2 separate regions of the Homo sapiens genome follow, and region 2 is linked to region 1. Evidence: promoter capture Hi-C in 16 types of primary human blood cells and fetal thymus (Javierre and others, 2016). All regions are on one chromosome and are shown on one strand. Each heading gives the region's core, a stretch centred on a gene start or on the middle of the fragment in contact. The rest is flanking DNA. Distances are from core to core; before and after follow the strand shown. Region 1 holds the start of GLT1D1 (glycosyltransferase 1 domain containing 1). Region 2 overlaps GLT1D1 (glycosyltransferase 1 domain containing 1).

Evidence for each region. The method cuts DNA at HindIII sites, captures the fragments that hold promoters and counts their contacts. A CHiCAGO score of 5 or more calls a contact.
Region 2: a fragment that was not itself captured here is called in contact with the fragment with the promoter of GLT1D1 in region 1 in 1 of 17 cell types (neutrophils); the score reaches 6.2 in neutrophils.

The regions. Positions count from the first base shown.
Region 1 is chr12:128,848,543-128,856,047 of GRCh38, reverse strand. It overlaps GLT1D1 (glycosyltransferase 1 domain containing 1), which reads right to left and starts at 2,570. Exons shown (of 12, transcript NM_001366886.1): 1 at 2,399-2,570. The coding sequence starts at 2,466. It overlaps LOC100128276 (a long non-coding RNA gene), which reads left to right and starts at 2,953. Exons shown (of 3, transcript NR_148996.1): 1 at 2,953-2,972; 2 at 3,696-3,855; 3 at 6,588-6,877. RefSeq lists an enhancer at 1,589-2,240 and silencers at 2,102-2,301, 2,492-2,591. The HindIII fragment of the contact is 7,589 bases long and covers 271-7,505 here.
Region 2 is chr12:128,886,408-128,893,912 of GRCh38, reverse strand. It overlaps GLT1D1 (glycosyltransferase 1 domain containing 1), which reads right to left. Exons shown (of 12, transcript NM_001366886.1): 3 at 5,169-5,274. Among named protein-coding and RNA genes, the nearest start is that of GLT1D1, 37 kb to the right of the region's middle. The HindIII fragment of the contact is 3,039 bases long and covers 2,537-5,575 here.

The DNA of each region.
Region 1 (7,505 bases), core at 1,321-3,820:
AGGCGAAGTTGCTCATGCCTGTAATCCTAGCACTTTGGGAGGCCAAGACCAAAGGATCACGTGAGGTCAGGAGTTCGAGACCAGCCTGGCCAACATGGTGAAACCCTGTCTCTACTAAAAATACAAAAATCAGCTGGGTGTGGTGGCAGGCGCCTGTAATCCCAGCTACTCCGGAAGGTAAGGCAGGAGAATCGCTGGAACCGGGGGGCAGAGGTTGCAGTGAGCTGAGACCCCGCCATTGCACTCCAGCCTGGGCGAAAGAATGAAGCTTTGTCTCAAAAAAAAAAAAAAAAAAAAAAAAGGCAACCAGCAGCCCTTGGGGCTGCTCTGTCTATGGAGTAGCCAGTCTTTTATTTTTTTACTTTCTTAATAAACTTGCTTTCACTTTAAGGACTCGCCCTGAATTCTTGCTTGTGCAAGATCCAAGAACCCTCTATCGGGTTCTGGATCAGGACCTCTTTCCGTTAACAGTTTTGTTTTATTTTTTAGAGTTTTGATCTGCCACCCAGGCTGGAGTTCAGTGGTGCAATGTCACTTCGCTGCAGCCTCAACCTCCTGGGCTCAACTGATCCTCCTGCCTCAGCCTCCTGAGTAGCTAGGACCACAGGCATGCACACACCACATCAGCTAATTTTTAAATTTTTTTTTGTAGAGATGAGGGTTTCACCATGTTGCCCATGCTGGTCTTTAACTCCTGGGCTCAAGCAATCCTCCCATCTCAGCCTCCCAAAGTGCTGGGATTACAGGCTTGAGCCGCCATGAAAGCCTGCCCTAGGTTTTTTGTTTTTTTTGTTGTTGTTGTTGTTTTTTTTTTTTTTTTTTTTAGATGGAGTCTGGCTCTGTCACCCAGGCTAGAGTGCAGTGGCGTGATCCCAGATCAATTGGCTCACTGCAACAGCTGCCTCCCAGGTTCAAGCGATTCTCCTGCCTCAGCCTCCTAGTTTTGCTTTCTTAATAGCACTAATCCCTATGTGAAATCACCTCCTTCATTCCTCTCCCATACTGGGATGCTGGTTCATCCAACAGAGCCAGGAACACAAAGGGCTCCTCACTGCTAAACCCAAGCAGAGCATCACTGACCTATTTAATAGAAACCTGCACCATGAAACCTGAGTGTAAATTTTCCAGCAAATTTCAGAAAACTGATGGATCCTCTCTTGGTCATTTCTGCTTATGATCTTTAGGAGAAATTAGCTGAAAGGGACATGAAAGTGTTGGTGGAGTCTCAATTGCTCATTTTAATGATGAGGAGGCCGGGCACAGTGGCTCATACCTGTAAACCCAGCACTGTGGGAGGCCGAGGCAGGCGGATCACCTGAGGGCAGGAGTTCGAGACCAACCTGGCCAACATGGTGAAACCCTGTCTCTATTAAAAATACAAAAATCAGCCGGGCGTGGTGGTGCACACCTGTAATCCCAACTACTTGGGAGGCTGAGGCAGGAGAATGCTTGAATCCAGGAGGCGGAGGTTGCAGTGAGCCCAGATTGCGCCACTGCACTCCAGCCTGGGTGACACAGCGAGACTCCATTTCAAAAAAATAAATTGATGGGGAAACAGGCCCACAGAAGGGAAGTAAATCGGGAAATTTCATGAAGCAAGTCCGCTTTTACACACACACACACACACACACACACACACACACACACACACACGGCTTCTGTTAAGCTGCAGGCTCTAATCCTGGCACTTCCCAGGCTTCGCCTCAAGGAATATGTTTATCCGGCTAATACAGGCCGAGCGCCCGCTGTGCGGGTGGGAGGCGGCGGGATTAACGCGGCGGCCCCTCCCCGGGCCCCCGCCGGGCTTGCGTTCCAGCGACCAGAACACAGACCAACAAGTAAACAAATAAGACAAAGGCAGAAAAAGATGAGTGTGAAGGAGCTAACCAGCCAGGAAGACGAGAATAGACAGGGCAGAGGGGAGGTGGGAAAGGGACTTCGGGGACAGGACCCCGGACGCCGGCACACAGCCGAGACCCGATCCGCGAGGGCAGGGCTGGCACCGCGGTCCCCGGCCTGGAAACGCGCCCCCGCCGGGAGCTCCGCGGACCCCGCTGCGCATCCCTGCGGATCCTGCTCCCATCCTGCTTCTGCAGCGAGGCCTTCCCGGGCCCCTCCACGACAGGCTCCGGGCCTGTTCACCTGCTCAGTCCCCTCCGGAGAGCGCGAGGCCAATGCGCCGGCCGCACGGAGACCCGGGGACACGCGCGCCACGCAGAAGGCACCGACCCCCGCGCGCCCGGCAGGCGGCACCGGCCCATCCGTTTGTGCGCGCGGCTCGGGACGGCCCCGGCGCGGCTGGAGGGGGCCTGGCTGAGCGCCCCGCGTCCCCGGGTCCCGCGTCCCCGCCCCCCGGCCCCCGGCCCAGGCTTCGTAGGCCCCGGCGCCCTGCACCTACCGAACGCGCTGGGCCGTGACCGCGTTGCCGGTGTGTGGCCGCAGCACCGCCAGGAACAGGAGCCGCATGCCGCCGCCGCCGCCCGGGCCATCGACCGGCCCCGCCGCCGCCGACCAGGCCCCGGGGCCGGCGCAGACGCGGACGGCGGGGGAGCCGGGGCGGCTGGGTCTGTCCCGCCCGCCCCTCCCCGAGGCCGCGCCCCAGCTCGCAGGTTCCGGCGCCAGGCGGGGAGGGGGACAGGAACCGGGGGCCTCGGGCGGCGCGAGCCCTGGGTGCGGGGTGGCGCGGGTGTGCCCCGTGGGGTCCATCACCAGGGTAGCCGCGGTCTGTTTCCACCTGGACCAGGACCAGCGGTGACCACAGTCCCTTCCACGGGGACCAGGACCATCGGTGACCACAGTCCCTCACACGGGGACCAGGACCAGCGGTGACCACAGTCCCTCCCAAGAGGACTAGGACCAGCAGTGACCACGTTCCCTTCCACAGGGAACAGGCAGCGGTGACCACAGACCATTCTCACGGGGACCAGGACCAGCGGTGACCACAGTCCCTCCCAAGGGGACCAGGACCAGCGGTGACCACAGTCCCTTCCCACAGTGACCAGGACCAGGGGCGGCCTTGGTCCTTTCCCACAGGGAACAGGAGCAGGGGTGGCCATGGTCCGCTCCCATGGAAACCAGTGATGGCTTCCATGGGCTTCATTGGGAAATCAGGGCTTCACGGAACACCGGGTTGGCTGCAGGTCTGTGCCCACCGGGACCAGCAGAGACCTCGGGTTCCGTCCCACAGGGTGCTGCAGAGAGGGGCTCTCAGCCTCATTTTCCATGACAACCTGAGTGGGGCCTTGGTCCGCACGAAGCCCAGGATTCCTTTCTAGTCCCATTCCAGGGAACGTGGCATGATCAGTCCCAAATTCCTTCCCAGGCTAGACTACCCTAAAACTAACCCGAGGAGGGGAACATGGGGACTGTGTGAGGAGACAGTAGAAACCCATTTCAGGGCCGCACCTGTCGGGTGAGAAAGATGTTGGAGAGGGGAACCTGGGGTTCATCAGGGTACATGGGCTGCACCTGGTCTGGATCTCCAAACTAGGATACCTTGAGTGAGAGAAATAGGGAACTGAAGGAGGCCTCTGGCAAAATGCCATCTGTGGATTTAAACAAGCACTCCCCAAAACAGCTGTTAAGTGTTTACAAAGATGCACATGTATTTACAGATGTGGGACATTCTAGTGGGTGCCCAATATTTCCATTGACCTTCAAACTTGATTTTCTGTCATCCCCTAAATACCTTCCAGCCTCAAAAAGGTAAAGTGGGAATGAAGAAAGCCATGACATGGGATAACCACCGTCAGTGGCAGGTCTCCGGCCTCCCTACGCAGCATGGTGACCCCCAGGCTTATCAAGATATAAAAGTCCATCCTGGAGGGCACATTCGGCTCCGCAGGCTTCTCCCAGGTACGTCCACCACTCTGCCTCTCAGTGTGGCATGGAGTAGGGAAGAGTTGTATATCATTGTAGAACAATCAAAATCCTGTCCTCCTCTCACTCTCAAAAAAACACCCAGGATTTTGCTCTTCTTCCTGGTATTTCAGCTTCCCAGGCACCAGGCAGGCAGGCCACATCCTTTTTAAAGGACAAAAGCGATCTGAAAATATTATCATTCTGCTAAACAACTTAATACTTTCCAACAGAATTACATAAGCAAACAGGAAAGGGGACAAGTTGCACAGAGCTGTCACAACCCCCTTCTAACGACATTTTAGAAAAAGAGTTTTGACCCCGGGCACGGCGGCTGACTCCTATAATTCCAGCACTTTGGGAGGCCGAGGTGGGTGGATCACTTGAGGCCAGGAGTTCAAGACCAGTCTGGCCAACATGGCAAAACCCCGTCTCTACCAAAAATAGAAAAATAGATGGGCATGGTGGTACAAGCCTGTAGTCCTAGGTACTTGGGAGGCTGAGGCATGAGAATCATTTGAACCCAGGAGGCGGAGGTTGCAGTGAGCCGCGATCATGCCACTGCGCTCCAGCCTAGGCAGTAAAGCAAGACTCAGTGTTAAATAAATAAATAAGTTTTGAGTGGACTCCTGATATATTTGCTACACACCAAGAAGAGGCAATAAAACGCAGTGTCTGGTGTGGTATACAGAAGTAGAGGGGGGCACTTGCCCATGATCTTCCCCTATTTCACCTTGCCCATGGGATATTAAAAGCTAAATGTGAACAGATACATTTCTGATTTTACAAAGGCGACTTCAGCATGAGCCCAGAAAGGAACCTCCCTAAGGAGAGTTGAACTGGCAGCCTTGTGGGCTCAATATCATCCTTAGATGTATTTAGGCTACACCGTGTTTTTCATAAAAGCTGAGCTATTATTTTTTGTTTGTTTTGAGACAGTGTCACTCTGTCATCCAGGCTGGGGGTGCCGTGGTGTGATTATGGATCACTCCAGCTTCCACCTCCTGGGCTCAAGTGATCCTCCCATCTCAGCCTTCCAAAAAAGTAGCTGGAACCATAGATGTGCACCACCATGCTGGGCTAATTTTTTGTATTTTTTGTAGAAGTGGGGTCTCACTATGTTGTCCAGGCTGGTCTTGAGCTCCTGGGCTCAAGCAGTCAACTCACCTCAGCCTCCCAGAGTACTGGAATTACAGGCGTGAGCCACTATACCTGGCCAAGCCACCATTTTTTAATTGGGAGCTTTCATATAGAAGTTGGAATTTCTGATATCTGTTAAAAAATGAGAGATCTGATTAAATGAAGCCACCATCCTGTGGCTGACTGAAGCTGGGAAGCAGCTGCCTGCTTAAGATGAAATCTGAATGTGCCATTTCACACAGTGCTTGAAGGCTCACTTCAATTCCTTGATAACCTCGATCTGTATTCTTGTGTTTAGAAAAAATTTGAAGTTTATTTTTACGTAAATTAAGTTCAGAAGAAGGTGGCCCAAGCCTAATATAGTGGCTGTACCATCACCAGGAACCCAGACTTTCCTCTGTCTACTCCATCATGCTAGTGTTTAGCTTCTAGTCTCAAGATCACCTTATCAAGGAATTGATAAGGAGTAGGACTGCTACAGCTCCACCCATCACATCAACATTCCAGGCAGCAGGAAGGAAGGAAAGGCAAAAGTGGTGCACTCCAGATGGTGTATTTTATTTTAAAGTGTCTTCCTAAAAATGCAAACAGCCCTATGCCTTTATTGTGTTGGCCACGTGGCCATTTCTTGCATCCAAGGAGGCTAAGACATGCGGTCTATTAACTGGGTACACTGCCACCTAAATACAATCGTGGTTACTAAAGAAAAGTGGCAGAATAGGTTTGCAGTAAGTCACCTCTGCCATAGCAATCTAAATTAATAGATTAAAAGAGGAAATGGCAGAGGCATTTGAATCAGAGCAACTCCCTCTTGAATAGGGGCTGGGTAAAATGAGGCTGAGACCCGCTGGGCTGCCTCCCAGGAGGTTAAGGCATTCTAAGTGACAGGATGAGATAGGAGGTCGGTACAAGATACAGGCCACAAAGATCTTGCTGATAAAACAGTTTGCAGTAAAGAAGCCGGCCAAAACCCACCAAAACCAAGATGGCAATGAAAGTGACCTCTGGTTGTCCTCAACTGCTACACTCTCACTAGCGCCATGACAGTTTAGGAATGCCATGGCAACGTCAGGAAGTTACCCTATATGGTCTAAACAGGGGAGGCATGAATAATCCACCCCTTGTTTAGCATATCATCAAGAAATCACCATAAAAATGGGCAACCAGCAGCCCTCGGGCTGCTCTGTCTATGGAATAGCCATTCTTTATTCCTTTACTTTCTTAATAAACTTGCTTTCCCTTTACTGTATGGACTCGCCCTGAATTCTTTCTTGTGTGAGATCCAAGAACCTTCTCTTGGGGTCTGAAATAGGACCCCTTTCCGGTAACAGAAATACATATGACCCTCTCAATGGGTGGAATAAGAACATTCAGTAGGATTCAACACTCATTCTTGATGATACAAAAGAAGTAATAAAAGTAAGAAGAAAGAAAGGAACAAAGGAAGGAAGGAGGGATGGGGAGGGAGGCAGGGATGAAAGGAAGGAAGGAATTCAGTAATATAAGAAACTACGAAGAACTTTAAAAACTCTGTTTTTTAAAATCTTGCAGGTAAAAATTGCCTGACTCTGTGATTATCTCTTTTCTAGTCTCTCTACAGCTTATGAGTGGTTGAACCAGATTCAGAACTGCTCTCCAGAGGACTTTTGGAAATTTGGGGATGGAGAAGGAAATTTGTTGTCAGAATGATTAAGGAATGTCGTCAATATTTCACAACTAGGCCCAGAAGTTTTAACACCTTGCAACGTATAGGACATCCCTGCCTAAAGAAAAAATGCTTTTCCCCAAATGCCAGTAGATACCTGTATTAGTCAGGGTTCTCCAAGGAAACAGAACTAATGGGAAATTCATATTCGTAAATGGAGATTTATTATGAGGCATTGGCTCATGTAATCATGAAGGCTGAGAAGAACCCTGATCTGCTGTCTGCCATACGGAGAACCAGGAAAGCTGGTGGTGTAATTCAGTTCCAGTCTGAAGGCCTGAGCAATGGTGTAAATCCCAGTTTGAGGGAGGAGGGGGAATGGTGGGGGTGGTTGCTGAGAAGATGACATGAAATGTGCCCGCTCAAGCAGTGAGGCAGTGGGGAAAATGGAGGGGGGTGGGGAAGGGGGGGCAAATTCCTCTTTCCTCCTCCTTTTTTTCTTGAGAACAGGGTCTTACTCTGTCCCCCAGGTTGGAGTGCAGTGGTAGGATCTCCGCTCACTGCAAACTCCGCCTCCTGGGTTCAAGCAATTCTCTTGCCTCAGCCTCCTGAGTAGCTGGGATAACAGGCACACACCACTATACCCAGATAATTTTTCATTTTTAGTAGACACGGGGCTTCGCCATTTTGGCCAGGGCAGTCTCGAACTCCTGACCTCAAGTGATCCGCAGACCCTCCTCGCCTCCCAAGTGCTGGGATTACAGGCGTGAGCCACCGCACCCAGCCTCCTCCACCTTTTTCGCTCTACTCAGACCTTCAACAGATTGGATGAAGCCCAGCCACACCGGGGAGCGCACTTGCT
Region 2 (7,505 bases), core at 2,807-5,306, 36 kb before region 1:
AACTGAGAAACTTAAGAATTGAACAATTAGTGGGGCGTGATGGCTCACACCTGTAATCCCAACACTTTGGGAGGCCGAGGAAGGTGGATCACTGTGGTCAGGAGTTCGAGACCAGCCTGGCCAACACAGAGAAACTCCATCTTCACTAAAAATACAAAAATTAGCCAGGCGTGGTGGTGCACCCCTGTAGTCCCAGCTACTGACGAGGCTGAGGCAGGTGAATCGCCTGAACCCAGGAGGTGGAAGTTGCAGTGAGCTCAGACTGCACCACTGCACTCCAGCCTGGGCGACAGAGTAAGACTCTGTGTCCAAAAAAAAACAATAAAATTCAATTAAATTAAAAAACCACATTTCTTATGAAAAATATAAAGCTACCATTTTTGCATTTTTAGTTGAACATTGCCATTTTGAAATAGATTTACTCACTTTCACATGTGATTTTTTTTGTAAAAAAAATCTTTGGGCTTAAATATCTATAGCTTAAAACTTATGAAACTACCAATATTCAGCCATTTTATGCCTACAAAACAGCAAATTCACCTCGTTTAACCTATCGTGTGCTATAGATTTCCTATTTATGAGGCTATTTTTGAGGTGTTTCATTTTATACAAACTCTCTTTTGCTCATTTGCTTGACGATAATTTTTTCTTTTCTTTCTTTTGTTTTTGAGACAGAGTCTCCCTCTTTCACCCAGGCTGCAGTGCAATGGCGAGATCTCAGCTCACTTCAACCTCTGCCTCTCAGGTTCAAGCGATTCTCTTGCCTCAGCCTCCTGAGTAGCTGGGATTACAGGCATGTGTCACCATGCCCAGCTAATTTTTGTATTTTTAGTGAAGACGGAGTTTCCCCATGTTGGCCAGGCTGGTCTCAAACTCCTGACCTCAGTGATCCACCCGCTTCGGCCTCTCAAAGTGCTGGGATTACAGGCATTAGCCATCATGCCTGGCCAAGAATATTTTCTTCTAATATGTACCTGGATGATCCTTCACCAAATAATTTCCATAGGTTTCACATACTCTTCATTTAGTTTTGATATTGATAATGTAATTATCAAGTACTTATTACATTATAATATTTATAAGCCAAAAAGCTGAAGCTAAGGTAAGTTTGAATACTATATAATATAGAAAAAAAATTTAAATACTAAAAAAACTTCAAAAATAGACCCTATAGGAAAAATATAACTATTTAAAAACATTTGATTAAAAATGAAATACTCATTATAAAGCTAGACAAGTTCAATACTTTCTTTTACAGAAACGTGTGCTATGTTGTACTGGACAAAGAATCTGATCCATGCAGCTTTCCTGCCCACTAACCTCGATCAATAACCCCCCAAAATAGAAATCCGTGTTTGCTTTAATAACAATGAAATAAATAATACTAATAATAATACTGTAAGATGGATTCATTCAATGTTGTTTCTAGTAAACAGAATTGTTTTTCTTCCGTAAGGCAGTGCATTACCAACTACAGGAATCTAAAGGTAATGAATTTGCAGAGTGAAAGAACAACAGCAATAAGAAAACCTGTAATAAAAGATCCCCTTTCAAGGTAACCCCAACGTGTTTTAATGTCTTTTTTTATTGTAACACACACACGCACACACATGCACACTCACACGTGTGCTCTCTATTATGATAAGGTGGTGTGAAAGGAAAATATCTTGGGCCCCCAAATCACAAAGCTAAAGGGAAAAGTCAAGCTGGGAACTGCTAAGGGCAAACCTCCCTCCCATTCTATTCAAAGTCACCCCTCTGCTCACTGAGATAAATGTATATCTGATTGCTTCCTTGGGAAAGGCCAATCAGAAATGCAAAAGAATGCGACCTTTTGTCTGTCACCTACCAGTGACCTGGAAAACCCCTCCCTGCTTTGAGTCTTCCTGCCTCGCTTCCAGTTGTCCCGCCTTTCCAGACCGAACCAGTGTACCTCCTACATATATTGATTGATGTCTCACATCTCCCTAAGATGTAGAAAACCAACCTGTGCCTGACCACCTTGGGCACGTGTCATCAGGACCTCTTGAGGCTGGGTCATGAGTGCGTGTCTTCAACGTTGGCAAAATAAACTTTCTAAATAGTAACTGAGACCTGTCTCAGGTTTTTTGGGTCCACATTTGCATTGCCACAACATACGATCGGGGTCCTCAGGAAGGACTAGGGTCCTAAATGCAGTGATACCTCTCAGTAACCCTGGTTTTCAGAAGCGAGACTGACACCTACATTACCAAACAAGGAATCTGAGGCTCCCGACAGAACTTTGAATGCTGTCCCCTGTATGGAATAGGGTGATCCAGCTACATAAAGACTTGAAGTGTCCCAAATTCCCTGGCCAGAGCTTCCCAGCCATGAGGTGAGCCACAGAAAATTAATGGCTGGTGATTTATTGGGATAAAATCAATTACCAGTTTTGCTTTGTTTTGTTCTCTACAATGATTCAAAGATTTAAAAGGGTCGAAGGGATAGTTAGGCAGTACTTGTTGGACCAACTGTAAACTGTGGTTTCAGGGTTATTCTAGACACAGGTGAAGCTTTCTTCTAACACCAGCAGCCAGTGAACATGTGGGAGGACAAACTGCACAGAACCCCCTTGACTGTCCAGCCAAACCCCGAGGAAGCCCACTGAGCACCTCATGACTGATCAGAAAAGTTCTTTGTTTTGGGTATGCATGTATAGGTAGTTCTTTTGATTTAATTTCCGCTTTTTTTCACAATTTTCATATGATCATGGAAGATTCATATTGCTTTTATCATTATTTTATTTAATTTTTTATTTTTTTAATTAATTAAATTTTTTTTTTTTTGAGACAGTGTCGCTCTGTCACCCAGGCTAGAGTGCAATGGCAACATCTTGCTTACTGCAACCAACACCTCCCGGGTTCTTTTGTTGTTGTTGCTGTTGTTTGTTTTTGAGATGGAGTCATGCTCTGTCTCCCAGGCTGGAGTGCAATGGCACGATCTCAGCTCACTGCAACCTCTGCCTCCCGAGTTCAAGCAAGTCTTCTGCCTCAGCCTCTCAAGTAGCTGGAACTACAGGCACAGGCCACCATGTCCGGCTAATTTTTGTATTTTTAGTAGAGATGGAGTTTCACCCTGTTGTCCAGGCTGGTCTCGAACTCCTGACCTCAGGTGATCCACCTGCCTCAGTCTCCCAAAATGCTGGGATTACATGTGTGAGCCACCGCACCTGGCCACCTCCTGGGTTAAAGTGATTCTTCTGCCTCAGCCTCCCAAGTAGCCGGAATTACAGGTACCCACCACCACACCCAGCTAATTTTTGTATTTTTAATAGAGATGGGGTTTCTCCGTGTTGGCCAGGCTGGTCTCGAACTCCTGACCTCAAGTGATCCACCTGCCTCAGGCCTCCCAAAGTGCTGGGATTACAGGCCTGAGTCACCGTGCCCGGCCTGATTTTATCATTATTTTAATTCTTATTATTGTTATTCGTTAGACAAAGAAATGGGAGTGATTTTTTTAATCAAGGCTTTTAATCCACTTTAAATTGCTATACAAATATGATAATTTTCTAAGTATGCCTTGTCAAAAGACACAATGACAACAAATTGAGTTCAAAGATTATAATGGGCCTTTATCAGCAATTCTAGAATTGGGCAGCACCTCATTCTACAAAACAGAATGAGTGTTCTGATGAGCTGCGCAGAGAAGGCGTGTTTTACAGACAGACAAGGGCTGAAGAAAGCAGACACAGGAAACAAAAAGCAGATGGGGCATTTCAGAGTTACTTTCCCTACAGGGTTAAAGCAGAGAAGACTTCCCTATTCTGCTGACTGAAGTTGCCTGGAATTTCTTGCCTTTTAGAAAACTGGCCCATTTCAGGCTGGGCACGGTATCTCATGCCCGTAATCCCAGCACTTTGGGAGGCCGAGGCAGGTGGATCGCTTGAGGCCAGGAGTTTGAGACCAGCCTGGCAAAATGGTGAAACCCCGTCTCTACTAAAAATACAAAAATTAGCCGACTGTGGTGGCAGGCGCCCATAATCCCAGTTACTCGGGAGCCTGAGGCACAAGAATCGCCTGAACCCGGGAGGCTGAGGTTGCAGTGAGCCAAGATCGCGCCATTGCGCTCCAGCCTGGGCAACGGAATGAGACTCTGTCAGGAAAAGAGAAGAGAAGAGAGAAAGAAGGCTGACCCATTTCAAAGTTCAGTTTGATTACATAGCGCTCAGCACAAGTGACTCCTTTCTGTCTTGGGCTAGTCCGCTGGGGGACAGTGCGGGGGCTGGTCCAGAACAACAGCCTCCGATGAACCTCCTTTCACCGTATTGACATGGAAAAGTTGGGAAGTACAGCGCTGGAAGGAATTCTCAACTGGGGATAATAACTTCCCCCACCCTGGGGGCATTAGAATTATAGGGAGACATACTAAGGTAGTTGTGGTACCTGGAGGCTGCTGCCCATGATCAGTATCTGGGATCAGAGACGTGCAGGGCAGCCCCCAGGATTATCACAGTGACCCCTGTAAGAAGCCCCACTTAGAGCATGTAGAGCTGTTCTCACAGCAGCTACCTCTCAGGTCCCTGGGACAGCTAGAGGGCCATACCCAAGGAAAAGGCCTAAGCCACAGTTTAGAAATCCTGTTGGTGACCCTTCTTGCAAATGGCATATATAGCTCAGAAAGCTACATAGATAAGACCCATGCCAAAGATAGTCTACTTGGGCAAACCTGATGCAAACTAGATCCTAATTTGTGTGCTGCTAAGGCTGGAGTTTGCCTGTGATTCGTGTTTTCTACATCCAGAACACTTGTTTTTTTGAAAAGAGGGCTTTGCTCTACCACTCAGGCTGGATTGCAACCATAGCACACTGTAGCCTTGGGCTCCTGGGCTCCAGCAATCCTCCTGCCTCAGCCTCCCAAGCAGCTGGGACCACAGGCGTGCCTCACTATGCCTGGCTCCATGCAGACCATTCTAAAGAGGCTTATCTAATATTAACTGTAGTTGAAGACTTAAGTGCAATAACCTGTTAGCAATGACTATTTGTGGCCAAATAAAAATGTACCAAATGAAAGAAAAGGTTACATGAAATTGGTTTTAAGTGCTAAGATGTAAACCTTCCCGGCAATTGGTGCCCTCGGTCTTTGGTTTCAATTAATTCAATTCACACAGTTTAAATGTTTGGCATGGATGAAATTCTCGCAGGTATTACCTGGCTTCCTCAAGAACTCTGCCCATGACTGTGTTTTTTTCCGCCTGGTTGGCATCTTCATTTACATCAGTTCCACCAAAGATGACTCCAAAAGGGATTCGGTGGCCTGCAAAACGATGACAGTCACAAAGCAGAATTTAGCCCTAAAAACAGCCTTCACCAACCATTCCCAAGCAAGGATCTTAAACACTGAAGTTCCCAGATCGCCGGAGCTGTTTGTTGCTGTACATTTAGCTGCATCCACCTCTCCTGGATAGCAGAATAGGTATCACTACAATAAACACAACACCAAGAGGAATCACGGGAGGCCCCAACCACTGTCGTCAGGGCTATCTTTCAATTAATTCATTTTAAACTTTAGCAAATAAAAAATATTGTTAGCCTCATCTATCAATCAAAGCCAAGCTTATCATTCCTAGGAAATGGGCTAATCTGCCATCATCAAAATTCATGACAAAAAAAGGGCTCTCCAAACTGAGTCCTATTGTTCATCAACACCAACAGGCACCGTGCTAGCTTGGGACAACAACAGGGGAGAGAGAGGTACAGACAACCTTGATAATATCCTCAAGAACTGTTCAGTACAGCAGGGGTGATAAATTATGACAGGCTCAACTAGGATAAGGGCCAAAATAACACAAGATGCTGAGCGCATAAAGTGGGAAAGAATTTGCAAAGGGAGTATGTATATTCCGAGTGACGCGTCCTGTGCGGATGGGAGGCAGTGTGTGAGTCCACTCCCTGCTTCCTTGATGAACATTTCATGAGCGCAGATGGGCAGGACAGGGCATTAGCCCTGCCCATCTCAGGCTGAATGATGTGCTTATCAAAAGCGACTCCCCGAAAGGACTCCCAAAGGTCACCTAAAAATTTCAGAGAGACTATGGCCTACAAATCACCCAACAGACCAGATCTAACTGGAGTTCACCCAGTTAGATTTCTCAAACAAGCTATTTCTATCAAGATATTTAAAGGAGAAGATACTGATCTTTCCTTTTACTGGCCTTTGAATTGTTTTTGTCATGTAAATTAGCAGATCTCATCTTCTTTCTCTCTATCTAGGTCACTCTCACCCTAGAATTCCACTGCTATGAATTCAGCCTCCAGATATTAAGCTCAACAATAATACACATGGCTCCAGCAAGGCTGCTAAAAGTAGCACAGTTTGAGAAGCAACTTACTTGTGCATTGGTGAAGACCAACTCTTTTTTTTTGGAGCTCTGTGTGTGTGTGTGTGTGTGTGTGTGTGTACTCACATAGAAAGACTGGCCAAAAAAAAAACGCATATTGGTGAACAAAAGATGCTTGCACAAAAACAAAAGCCATAAACACACATTTCTATATGCACAGAGCATCTGTGATAGTACACAAAATAATAACTGTTGTCACCTCTGGGAAAGAGACCTGGAAGACTACAGATCTGGGATGGGCCAGGTGCGGTGGCTCACACCTGTAATGCCAGCACTTTGGAAGGCCAAGGAGGGCAGATCACCTGAGGCCGGGAGTTTGAGATCAGCCTGGGCAACACGGCAAAATTCTGTCTCTATTTTTGTAAAAATACGAAAATTAGCCAGGTGTGGTGGGGCACACCTGTAATCCGACCTACTCCGAAGGCTGAGGCATGAGAATCACTTGAACCCGGGAGGCAGAGGTTGGAGTGAGCTGAGATCACGCCACCGCACTGCAGCCTGGGTGATAGAGCGAGACTCCGCCTCAAAAAAAAAAAAAAATCTGGGTTGGGAGTGAGACTTACTTTTCACTCTGTAACATTTTATATTGTTTGAATTTCTTACTACAGACCTGTAAGAACTTTTCCAAAAACACAGAGAGACATAGAAACGCCCGCCCAGTAGAGGTGGTTCACCAGGGGTTTAGGCTTTGGGAGATGTTGAGACAGAGTGAAGATTTTTCTCATATGGTAAGGACATGAATCTGTGGTAGGGAGAATAATTGCTCCCAGAGATGTCCACATCCTAATTCCCAGGACCCATGAGGCTGGGACAGGGGAGGGGTATTACGGTAGACTATCGAGGCAGGCTCAACATAACCACAGGGGTCGTTACAAGTGGAAGAGGGAGGCCAGAGAATCAAGTTCAGAGTGAGGAAGACCTCACCAGCCTGATGGCTCTGGACATGGAGGAAGGGCCATGAGCCAAGACATGTGGATGCCCCTCAAGGCTGGAAAAGACAAGAAAACAGATTCTCCCCAAGAGCCTCCAGGAAGAAGCGCAGCTGCTGACACCTGAATTTCAGCCTGGGAGATCCGCTTCAGCTTTCCAACCTCCAGAACAGGCTCCCCTGTCACCGCCTCAGGGGTCTTGGGAAGTAGGATGTGGA